Regions from separate parts of the Homo sapiens genome. Here all the other regions are linked to region 1. The links are contacts of gene promoters, found by promoter capture Hi-C in blood cells and fetal thymus (Javierre and others, 2016). All regions are on one chromosome and are shown on one strand. The core of a region is centred on a gene start or on the middle of the fragment in contact, and the rest is flanking DNA. Distances in the headings are between cores, read along the strand shown. Region 1 holds the start of XIRP1 (xin actin binding repeat containing 1). Region 2 has its middle 15 kb from the start of CCR8. Region 3 overlaps SLC25A38 (solute carrier family 25 member 38).

What was found. Contacts are between HindIII fragments. The CHiCAGO score rates a contact against its expected background, and 5 or more counts as called.
Region 2: a contact is called between a fragment that was not itself captured here and the fragment with the promoter of XIRP1 in region 1, in 1 of 17 cell types (fetal thymus). The highest score is 6.3, in fetal thymus.
Region 3: a fragment that was not itself captured here is called in contact with the fragment with the promoter of XIRP1 in region 1 in 2 of 17 cell types (fetal thymus and activated CD4 T cells); the score reaches 6.1 in fetal thymus.

What each region holds. Positions count from the first base shown.
Region 1 is chr3:39,191,297-39,194,427 of GRCh38, reverse strand. It overlaps XIRP1 (xin actin binding repeat containing 1), which reads left to right and starts at 1,833. Exons shown (of 2, transcript NM_194293.4): 1 at 1,833-1,982. RefSeq lists an enhancer at 2,073-3,062. The HindIII fragment of the contact is 686 bases long and covers 1,643-2,328 here.
Region 2 is chr3:39,342,799-39,345,939 of GRCh38, reverse strand. No RefSeq gene overlaps it. Among named protein-coding and RNA genes, the nearest start is that of CCR8, 15 kb to the right of the region's middle. The HindIII fragment of the contact is 3,394 bases long and covers 1-3,062 here.
Region 3 is chr3:39,395,918-39,399,057 of GRCh38, reverse strand. SLC25A38 (solute carrier family 25 member 38) reads right to left here. Exons shown (of 7, transcript NM_017875.4): 7 at 1,707-2,660. The coding sequence ends at 2,538. Among named protein-coding and RNA genes, the nearest start is that of RPSA, 9.2 kb to the left of the region's middle. The HindIII fragment of the contact is 4,026 bases long and covers 1-3,140 here.

The sequences.
Region 1 (3,131 bases), core at 584-3,083:
CTCTATCGCCCAGGCTGGAGTGCAGGGGTGCGATCCCAGCTCACTGCATCTTCTGCCTCCCAGATTCAATTTTCCTGCCTCAGCCTCCCAAGTAGTTGGGATTACAGGTGTGTGCCACCACACCCAGCTAATTTTTTATATTTTTAGTAGAGACAAGGTTTCACCATGTTGGTCAGGCTGGTCTCGAACTCCTGACCTCAAGTGATCCACCAGCCTCAGCCTGCCGAAATGTGCTGAGATTACAGGCGTGAGCCACCGTGCCTGGCTGGAGGCACTCTTTTCATATAATAATTCCTTCAATTCTCAAAACTATCCTAGAAAGTAAGAAATTTCAGTACCCACAGGGAGAAAGCTCCTCCCAGGAGAAATCCTGAGAAACCTAAGGCTGCCCTTTCCCTGAAACACTGGTACATCGGTCTCCCTGCCCTTCCTAGAGAGAGCCAGGAGCCTGGGGGACAGGCAGAGGGCTAGAAAAGAGCAGGGGAAGAGACAAGAGGGAGGGAGACCAGGAAGAGGGGGTTCCCAGATGTCCTTACCCCCATCCCAGCTGACGCTGCAGGACTGACATTGACTACATGGAAAAAGTGAGCAATGTCTGGCATCACCCCCTGGTACCAGAGGGCATTTGGGGAGTCAGAAGGAAGACCTCATGTGCCAGGCCACAGAATGCACCTGCATACCCACAGGCATGGAGCCTGGGCCAGGCCCACCTAGGACAAAACACCTCTTTCGAGTTTTTTGCAGATGGTCCCCTGACATCCTTCACCACACTGGTCTGACTGCCAGGATCTCTTGGGCCTCCTGGGCCCCTCACGCCCTGGTAAGCAAAGGAGGAGGCAGGTGTGACCCCCCCACCCCCGCCGCCACTCCATCTGTGACTGGGAAGCTGATGACTCCAGGGTCAGAAATAACCCCACGGTCAGCTCCCTGCATGCCGCCCTTCCCCTCCCCTCCATTCCCAGAAAGCCTGGGCCCTGAGTCAGAGGGAAGAGTCGAGAAGAAAGGACTCAGATAATCTGGAATGAAAACCATAGAGTCCTGCTGTGGAATTCATTCATTGGGAGGCCGAGGCAGGTGGATTACCTGAGGTCAGGAGTTCGAGACCAGCCTGGCCAACATGGTGAAACCCCATCTCTACTAAAAATACAAAAATTAACTGGGTGTAGTGGTGCAAAGGAGGAGCTGGGCCTGGCCAATCTCGGCCCAGTGAAGAGCTGGGCCTGGTCATTCAGATGTCTTCCCCCCAAATCCAGCTTCATCGGGGCTGTGTTGACCTGTGCTGTGGGGCACAGGGTGGAATGGATAAGAAAGAAGGAACTCTTTAGTGCAGAAGGGAATGGGGAAGAAAGAGAGCTGAGCATCACACTCAGAGGTATCCAGGCTCAGAACAGAGGAGGAGGTGCCCAGCCTGCCCTCAGGAGACCTCCAGTCTCCTGGCACGGTGGGTGGAGACACGTCAGGAAGAGTCAGAGGCAGGGCCAGAGTAGAATGATGGGGGCTCACAAGACGGGAGCAAGCTGTCCAAGGTGTCAGATGCCTCTTCTTAGTCACTCTCTCAAAATAGTCTGGGACACCCCCAACCTCACAACCCAGCTGAGTCACTGACCCCAATCCCCAGATCAGACTTTGGATGAATGAAGCTTCTCCCCCTCTGTTTCCCCTCCCCAGCCCAAAGGACATGTAACTGATTCCCCAGGATGGAAGAGTGACTTCCACAAGACCTAAAAATAACCGAACCACTTAATACTCGGAACATAGCCTCTCCCACCCGCCCCCACCACGGCCCACCCACTAGCCAGCAAGATAAAGGCAGCTGCTGGGGCTGGCAGGGGACAGAGACCTGGAGCCAGGGCAGCAAGAAGGTGTCTGTTGGAGCCAGCAGAACAGAACCAATTTGAACAAGAACCTCCAGAGGAACGACGAACCCTGAGACCACAGCTGCTACAGACCACAAACACCCCATCAGCCAAGAGAGACCCTTGGTGAGTAACCTACCTCTCCATCCTTCCACAGCAAGGCTGGCTTTCACAGCTGGGATCCCCTCTCCTTCTGAAATGGACGTATTAGGAATGGCTCTGAGTAGGGGAAGGAGATTGAGGGGCATGCATGGGAGGAGGTGAGTGGAAGTCTCAGACATAAAGAACCCACAAAGGAGGTAAAGACAGTGTGAGCCCCATGGGAGCTCTCAGAGTGGCTGCCACAGGCCTGAAGCTAGCAGAAAGGATAGGCTCCTGCCAGGCTGGCATGATCCAGAAAGGCCTGGAGTTGTGATTTTTAAAATACAGGTATGGAGTGCCTCAGGCTTCAGGGCTTCCTCCCAGGGAAGCTTCAGGCAGGCCCAGGATCTGGAGGAAGGAGGAACAGGAGAGAGGTGGGGGCAGGGGGCTGTAAGTAGGCCTGAGTGTGCATTGCTAGAACAAGCCCCATGCCTAGTTGTTGTGGATGACACTCTTGGCATATCTGGCCCAGGGATAGCTCCCAGGGGCTGGCCGGAGCCCAGCTCCCTACATATCATAGCCTAAAACCTGGGGTGGAATTCGGACTCTGCCCATGTCCATAGTCTTGCCCAGTGGGAAAGCCCCCAGGGCAGATTTGGGGGGCTCACGGGAGGGAGACCAGATCTGAATTTGCCCAGATGTAAAGACATATGGAGCCAGCTGGGCCAAGGAGGAGGTGACCCGAGGACAGCAGGGGGACCATCCTGAGAGGCTGGCCCAGCCCTAGGAGACCAAGCTCTAGGACAGTTCTTGGGGCTCACCCCACGTAAGTCTGGTCCCAGTTATGAATTCTGTCCTGACTCTACACTTGTCCCAGCAGTCTCAAGCCAGGCAAAGATGGTGGTGGGAAGGCCAGGAGTCAGGAGACATGCTTCAGGCTTTGCTACTGCCTTGCTGAGCCTCCTTGGACAGCTCCTTTCCCCTCTTTGGGCCTCTGTTTCCCTATTTGAACAATAAGGGGTTTAGATTGAGTGACCTCTGAGGGTCCTTAGGCCTGACATCCCTGGACTCCATGATAATAACTGTCTGTGGCCTTAGCAGAGATTCTGGAAATTCCTGGGGGCGGGGGTGGGGTGAAGCTGATGGTGTGCACACACCATCTGCTCAGGCCACCCTGGTGGTGACAGGATGGAG
Region 2 (3,141 bases), core at 116-2,615, 150 kb before region 1:
TCCTAGGTTCAAGCAATCCTCCTACATCAGCCTCCTGAGTAGCTGGGATTGCAGGTGCATGCTCCACCATACCTGGCTAATTTTTGTATTTTTAGTAGAGATGGGGTTTTGCCATGTTGGCCAGGCTGGTCTCAAACTCCTGACCTCAAGTGATCTGACTGCCTTGGCCTCCCAAAGTGCTGGGATTACAGGTGTGAGCCACTGCAACCAGCCTATTTTTTATTTTCTAGAGACAGGGTGTCATTATATTGCCCAAGCTGGTCTCAAATTCCTGGCCTCAAGTTATCCTCCTGCTTTGGCCTCCCAAAGTGCTAGGATTATGGGCATAAGCCACCATTCCCAGGCCATAACTGTGATTTTTAAATAGCTATTTCTATCTATTGTTATTTCAGAAATTGTTATTTCTGATTGAAGTTAGCCTTCCTACTATTGATGTGATATTGATAGATATTATTTCCATTTTGGGGCTTACATTAGTTTTCTATGGATGCTGTAACAAAGTACCACATATCAGGTGACTTAGAACAATAGAAATGTATTGTTTCAAAGTTCTAGAGGCTAGAAGTCTGAAGTCAAGGTATTAGCAGGACCACATTCTCTCTGAAGCCTGTAGGGGAATCTTTCCTTGACTCTTCCTAGCTTCTGGTGGTTTGCTGGCAATGCTTGGTGTTCCTTGGCTGCCAGCTGCATAACTCAAATCTCTGCCATCCTTGTTACATGTATTCTGCCTGTGTGGCTTTACATCATCTTCCCTCTGTGTGTGCCTGTGTACACATTTTCACTTTTTATAAGGACACTAGTCATATTGGACTGGGGTCTACCCTAATGGCCTCATCTTAACTTGGTTAGATTTGCAAACATCCCATTTCCAAATAAGATCACATTCTGAAATACCAGGGAATAAGATTTCATCATATTTTCTTTTTTGGGGGGGTACAATTCAACCCATAAAAGAGCTGTTATGAATCATGTCCCTATAAGCATTCTTGGTGCACATATGCATGCATTTTTATTGGATTTATACCTAAGATTGGAATTGGTAGGTCATAGGACATGTGTATCTTCAAGTGTTGTAAATAATGCCAAACAGTTTTCTAAAGTGATTGGATCACTTAGTCTCACCAGCAGTGTATAAGTGTTCCCTTCTTCCATATCCTTTCCAACACTTAATATTGTTAGTTTTTAAGTTTTAGCCATTCTGATGGGTTTATAGTGATATTTTATCATGGCTTTAATGTGTATTTCCCTAGTTATTAGTGAAGTTGAGCATGTATTCTTTCACTTTTTGACCATTTAGACTTCCTCTTTCAAAAATTGTCTGCTGATATTCCCTGCCCATCCTTCTACTGATTATCTGTCTTTTTCATATTAGTATGTAGAAGGTCTTTATTTAGTTTAGACATGTATGCCTCCTGGGAATCAAGTCTCAATGAGTCTCTAATGTTTCTACCCATCTTCTGAGTGAAGGCATTGACAGCTTTTGTTCTGGACTAACTTTTCTTGGCTTTTTGTATAGCAAAATATCTTGTAAGATACTGTCCCTTTTTGGAGTGAGGATAGATTTCTCTGCTGTCAGGAAAATAATGTCTCCCTCCAGGACAAGTTTGCTAGCAGTTCCTTTAAAAGATTGGGTTTCCAAAGCATGAGGTTCCTCGATTGTAATGCATGCCCACTGCATGCACAGCATCCACCCAGGCCACCCTGCATCACCACTTAAAGACATGGGGTCAAACAGAACTATGTCTTAAAGCTCCTGCTTACTTGAGATCTAAACACCCTATATTTTACTTTTAATTTTTTGTTAGAATTTTATAACTTTCCTTACAAAAGTAATACATTTTTATTACTGACAATTCAGAAACTATGGATGAGCAAAAGGAATCTTCCTGTTTTGTTCATTTTGAGACTACAGAATGGCATAGAGAAAAATGTATCAAAACCTGCTGATTCAAATAAATTATTTTCAGAATGAACACCCAGGGTTAGGACAGACTTAACAAACCTATAAATTTTAATACTATCTAGAGAAAATCAGTAACTCTGAGACACTGCCAGATAATGTTCTCAAATGCCTTTGGGATCATCAAAGACAAGTTAAATAAAGTGAGATATTGATCTGGATTTCAGAATATATCAAATCCATTGAAAAGTCAGAGGTTCTCTATTGTATATGGCTATGCAACTGAACTAAAGACATCATTCTCCAGTTATTCTTGATAAGAAAGAGTTTACATATTACTATGGGAAAGGAAAGGGGCAATTGCTGGCAGATATATAGATAAGGATTACCCAGGAATAATTCCATCTGAGTGAAATGGCTCAGGGAAGAGGAAGTTTCCCCTTTGTTACCAAGAGGTGAATGTAATTTGCAGGTTGAGTGCTATAATCAAGAACAAATGACTCAACTATGAATCAATCCCTCCTGTTTTCTACACACACACACACACACAAACACACACACACACACTCACACTCTTCTCCCATTCCAAGGCCTGCTTATCTACTTTTGTCTGTGACAGGTTGGATATCCAAAGAAGCAGATTCTGAGATGGAGACTAGTGTGCAGGAAGTTTCTTTGAAAGTACTTTTGCAATCAACACCTGGGAAAGGAGGGGAAGGGAAGAAAGCAGGACTGAGCAGAGGGAGAGCTGCACTGTAGTCTCAACAGGAACTTCAGCTGACCCTATCCTTCAAAGCAATTCCAAGTTGCAATGAGGAGCTGGGACTTTATACCTTCATGTTTGTTGATCATGCGATGCAGGCCACCCTTTGAAGGAGGCAAGAGAGGCAGTCCCCAAAGGGACTGAGAGCTAAGCAATGCCTTCTGGTGGCTCTCCCAGAAGCTGGAATAATAAATTCTTTATTTCTGAACATCATAGCGTCTACCACTCTGTCTTTTAGTTAACAGAAGTCATTAACTTATTGGGTTAACTTCTATTAATGAAAAGACAGAGTGCAGTCAAATTTCATGTATGGTTTGTGTTTTTGAATCTCATTTAAGGCATCGTATTTCCTTGTACTAAAGTCATGAAGATTTTCTTTTATATGATTGTTTGAAAGCTTTATTTTCATTATTATGTCTTGTCTATATTTGATACTTCGCATTTAAAAAATAAATTATAGAATATTTTATGTCACCAT
Region 3 (3,140 bases), core at 562-3,061, 200 kb before region 1:
GGTCTAACATAGAGAGAAACAGATACACAAGGGAAAAGGCATGTGAAGACAGGCAGAGATTAGAGTGATGTTTTTACAAGCCAAGGAATGCTAGCCACCACTAGAAGGTGCAACAGACAAAGCATGACTCTCCTAGAGCCTTCAGAGGTGCAATGCTGCTGACACATTGATTTCAGACTTCTGGCCTCCAGATTGAGTTATAAACCATTCTGACTGTGGTAACTTGTTGTGGCTGTCCTATGAAGCTAATACCACATTTCAGAAACATTTATTAATTAACCCTCACCACCACCTGAAGAGGCAGGAAACATTACTAACCCTATTTCCGGCTGGGGGCGCTGGCTCACACCCGTAATCCCAGCACTCTGGGAGGCTGAGGCAGGTGGATCACTTGAGATCAAGAGTTCAAGACAAGCCTGGCCAGCATGGTGAAACCCTGTCTCTACTAAAAATACAAAAAATTAGCCCAGCGTGTAGTCCCAGCTACTTGGAAGGCTGAGGTGGGAGAATTGCTTGAACCCAGGAGTGGAGGTTGCAGTCAGCTGAGATTGCACGATTGCACTCCAGCCTGGGCAACAGGGCGACACTTTGTTCTCCGCCCCCTAAAAAACCCCCAAAACAAACTAACCCCATTTCCTAGGCATAGTTTCAGTGCCATGCCTAGGTAGTGGAGAGCAAGCAGCTTTCAACCTGGGCTGCCTGGATTAGAGCCCATGTTCTTAACCACAAGACTAAATATCCCCCCAACTTGTGCTTCTTGTATAAAGTAATGGCTGTTTCCTGATTTTTTTTTTTCTGATATGGAGTCTCATTCTGTCATCCAGACTGGAGGGCAGTGGTGTGATCTGCAACCTGCATCTCCTGGGTTCAAGTGGTTCTCCTGCCTCAGCCTCCTGAGTAGCTAGAATTACAGGCGTGCCCCACGATGCCTGGCTAATTTTTGTATTTTTAGTAGAGATGGGGTTTTGCTGTTTTGGCCAGGCTGATCTTGAACTCCTGGCCTCAAGTAATCTGCCTGCCTCACCCTCCCAAAATGCTGGAATTACAGGCAGGAGCCACCTTGCCTGGCCATCTTTCCTGAATTTTCAAGAAAAGATTTGAGTGCACAATAAGAATAGCTATAAAAGAGATAATAACAAGTGTTGACAAGGATGTGGAGAAATTGGAACTCTCATATACTGTGGCTGAGAATGGAAAATGGTATAGTCACTTTGTTTTTTTGTTTTTTGAGACAGGGTCTCACTCTGTCACCCAGGCTGGAGTGCAGTGGCATGATTTCAGCTCACTTTAACCTCTGCCTCCTCGGTTCAAGTGATTCTCGTGCCTCAGCCTCCCAAGTAGCTGGGATTACAGGCACATGCCACCACGCCCAGCTAATGTTTGTATTTTTAGTAGAGACGGGGTTTCACCATGTTGGCCAGGCTGCTCTTGAACTCCTGACCTCATGTGATCCACCCGCTTCGGTCTCCCAAAGTGCTGGGGTTACAGGCTTGAGCCACCGCACCCGGCCTACAGACTGCATTTATATGAAGTATCCAGAAAAGGCAAATTTATGAAGACAGAAAGCCTATCAGTGGTGGCCTGGGGCTGAGAATGAGGATTAATTACAAAAGGCATGAGAGATCTGTTTGGGGAATAAAAATGTTCTTAAACTGATTTATAGTGATGGTTGCATCATTCAGTAAAGCTGCTTTTTTGAACAGAAATTAGGTTTTAGGGACCTACATAGGTCAATAACCAGCCACCCTAGAACTATTTTATTTTAGAAAAGGGTTTGGTCCATTTTTATAAGGCACAGGTAAAGAAAACAGAAGTGTGACAACATCTTTTAGGTTTTCCAAACAGCTTTCAATGATAAAGTTCAATAAATAAAGTACAGCACTTTAATTGCAGGGAAAAAAAAATGCCAGAATTTAGAGGTAAAACAGTACAGGGGCCAAGACCAAAAAATTTTATTTGGAACATTCAGAGGCTAGAAAGCCACTGTCCCGTTCTCCAGAGCCTCTGAGAAGTTAACTGAGAACCAATTAAAGAAGGGCATCTGTTCCTCCTCATCCTACCATCACCTCAGTCAGTCTGTGACCTGGTGACAGTGACTCCTCTCCTCACATCCAGTCTTCCCTGGTTGGAGCTCCTCAGGCCCGGCAGGCAGCTTACAGCTTCTCTGGCTTTGTGATTGCTTGCCCAAGAACATACCCAAGGAGACCCTGTGGTGTAGGGGTGGGGCTGAAGCGCAGCCACCTGACAGAGCTCTCCTGGGAAAATGCCTTTCCAAGTAGCCTCTCAGAGTATGCAAAGCTCTCTCCTAACACCCTAGTGTGCTCTATGAATTGATGACTCCTCTTTTGGAGATTCTGAAGGCTGAAATCAGGTCCATATATTTTCTCCTTAAGGGGATTACTGAAGGCAAAGGCAACACAATTTCTGCCTGGTTTTCCAGGTAGGACTTCATCTTACTGCAGAATAGTAAGAAGCAGCAGCCCTTGGCAGAAACCAAGCAGGGCAACAGATTTCACCCGTTCCCAGTCCTCTCTTGGTCAGGACTTCAGGCCCATCTTGGCCATCATCTCTTCATACACCGTCCACGCCATTGCTGCCATTAGAGTTCTGCGGAGGGCTCGGGGGATGCCACCTTGGAAGAAGCCACGTAGTCCATAGTCCTATGGTGAAAATAAATGTCAGAACTCTGGAAGCAAAGTAGCAATACAATTAATTATCCACTTGGTACCACAGTGAGGGTCTCTGTTATCCCATGTTTAAGACTTAGTTTCTAAACTTTATGCCCAAAGTAAGAATAATGGGTCCAAGGAGACAACCAAAGAACTTAAAAAAAATTTTTTTTTTTTCCGAGGCAGAGTCTGGCTCTGTCGCCCAGGCTATAGTGCAGTGGCGCGATCTCGGCTCACTGCAACCTCTGCCTCCTGGGTTCAAGCGATTCTCCTGCCTCAGCCTTCCGAGTAGGTGGGACTACAGGCGCCCACCACCACGCCCGGCTAATTTTCGTATTTTTAGTTGAGATGGGGTTTTCACCATATTGGCCAGGCTGGTCTCGAACTCCTGACCTTGTGATCTGCCCACCTCAACCTCCCAAAGTGCTGGGATTACAGGCGTGAGCTACCGCGCTTGGCCAAAAACCATTT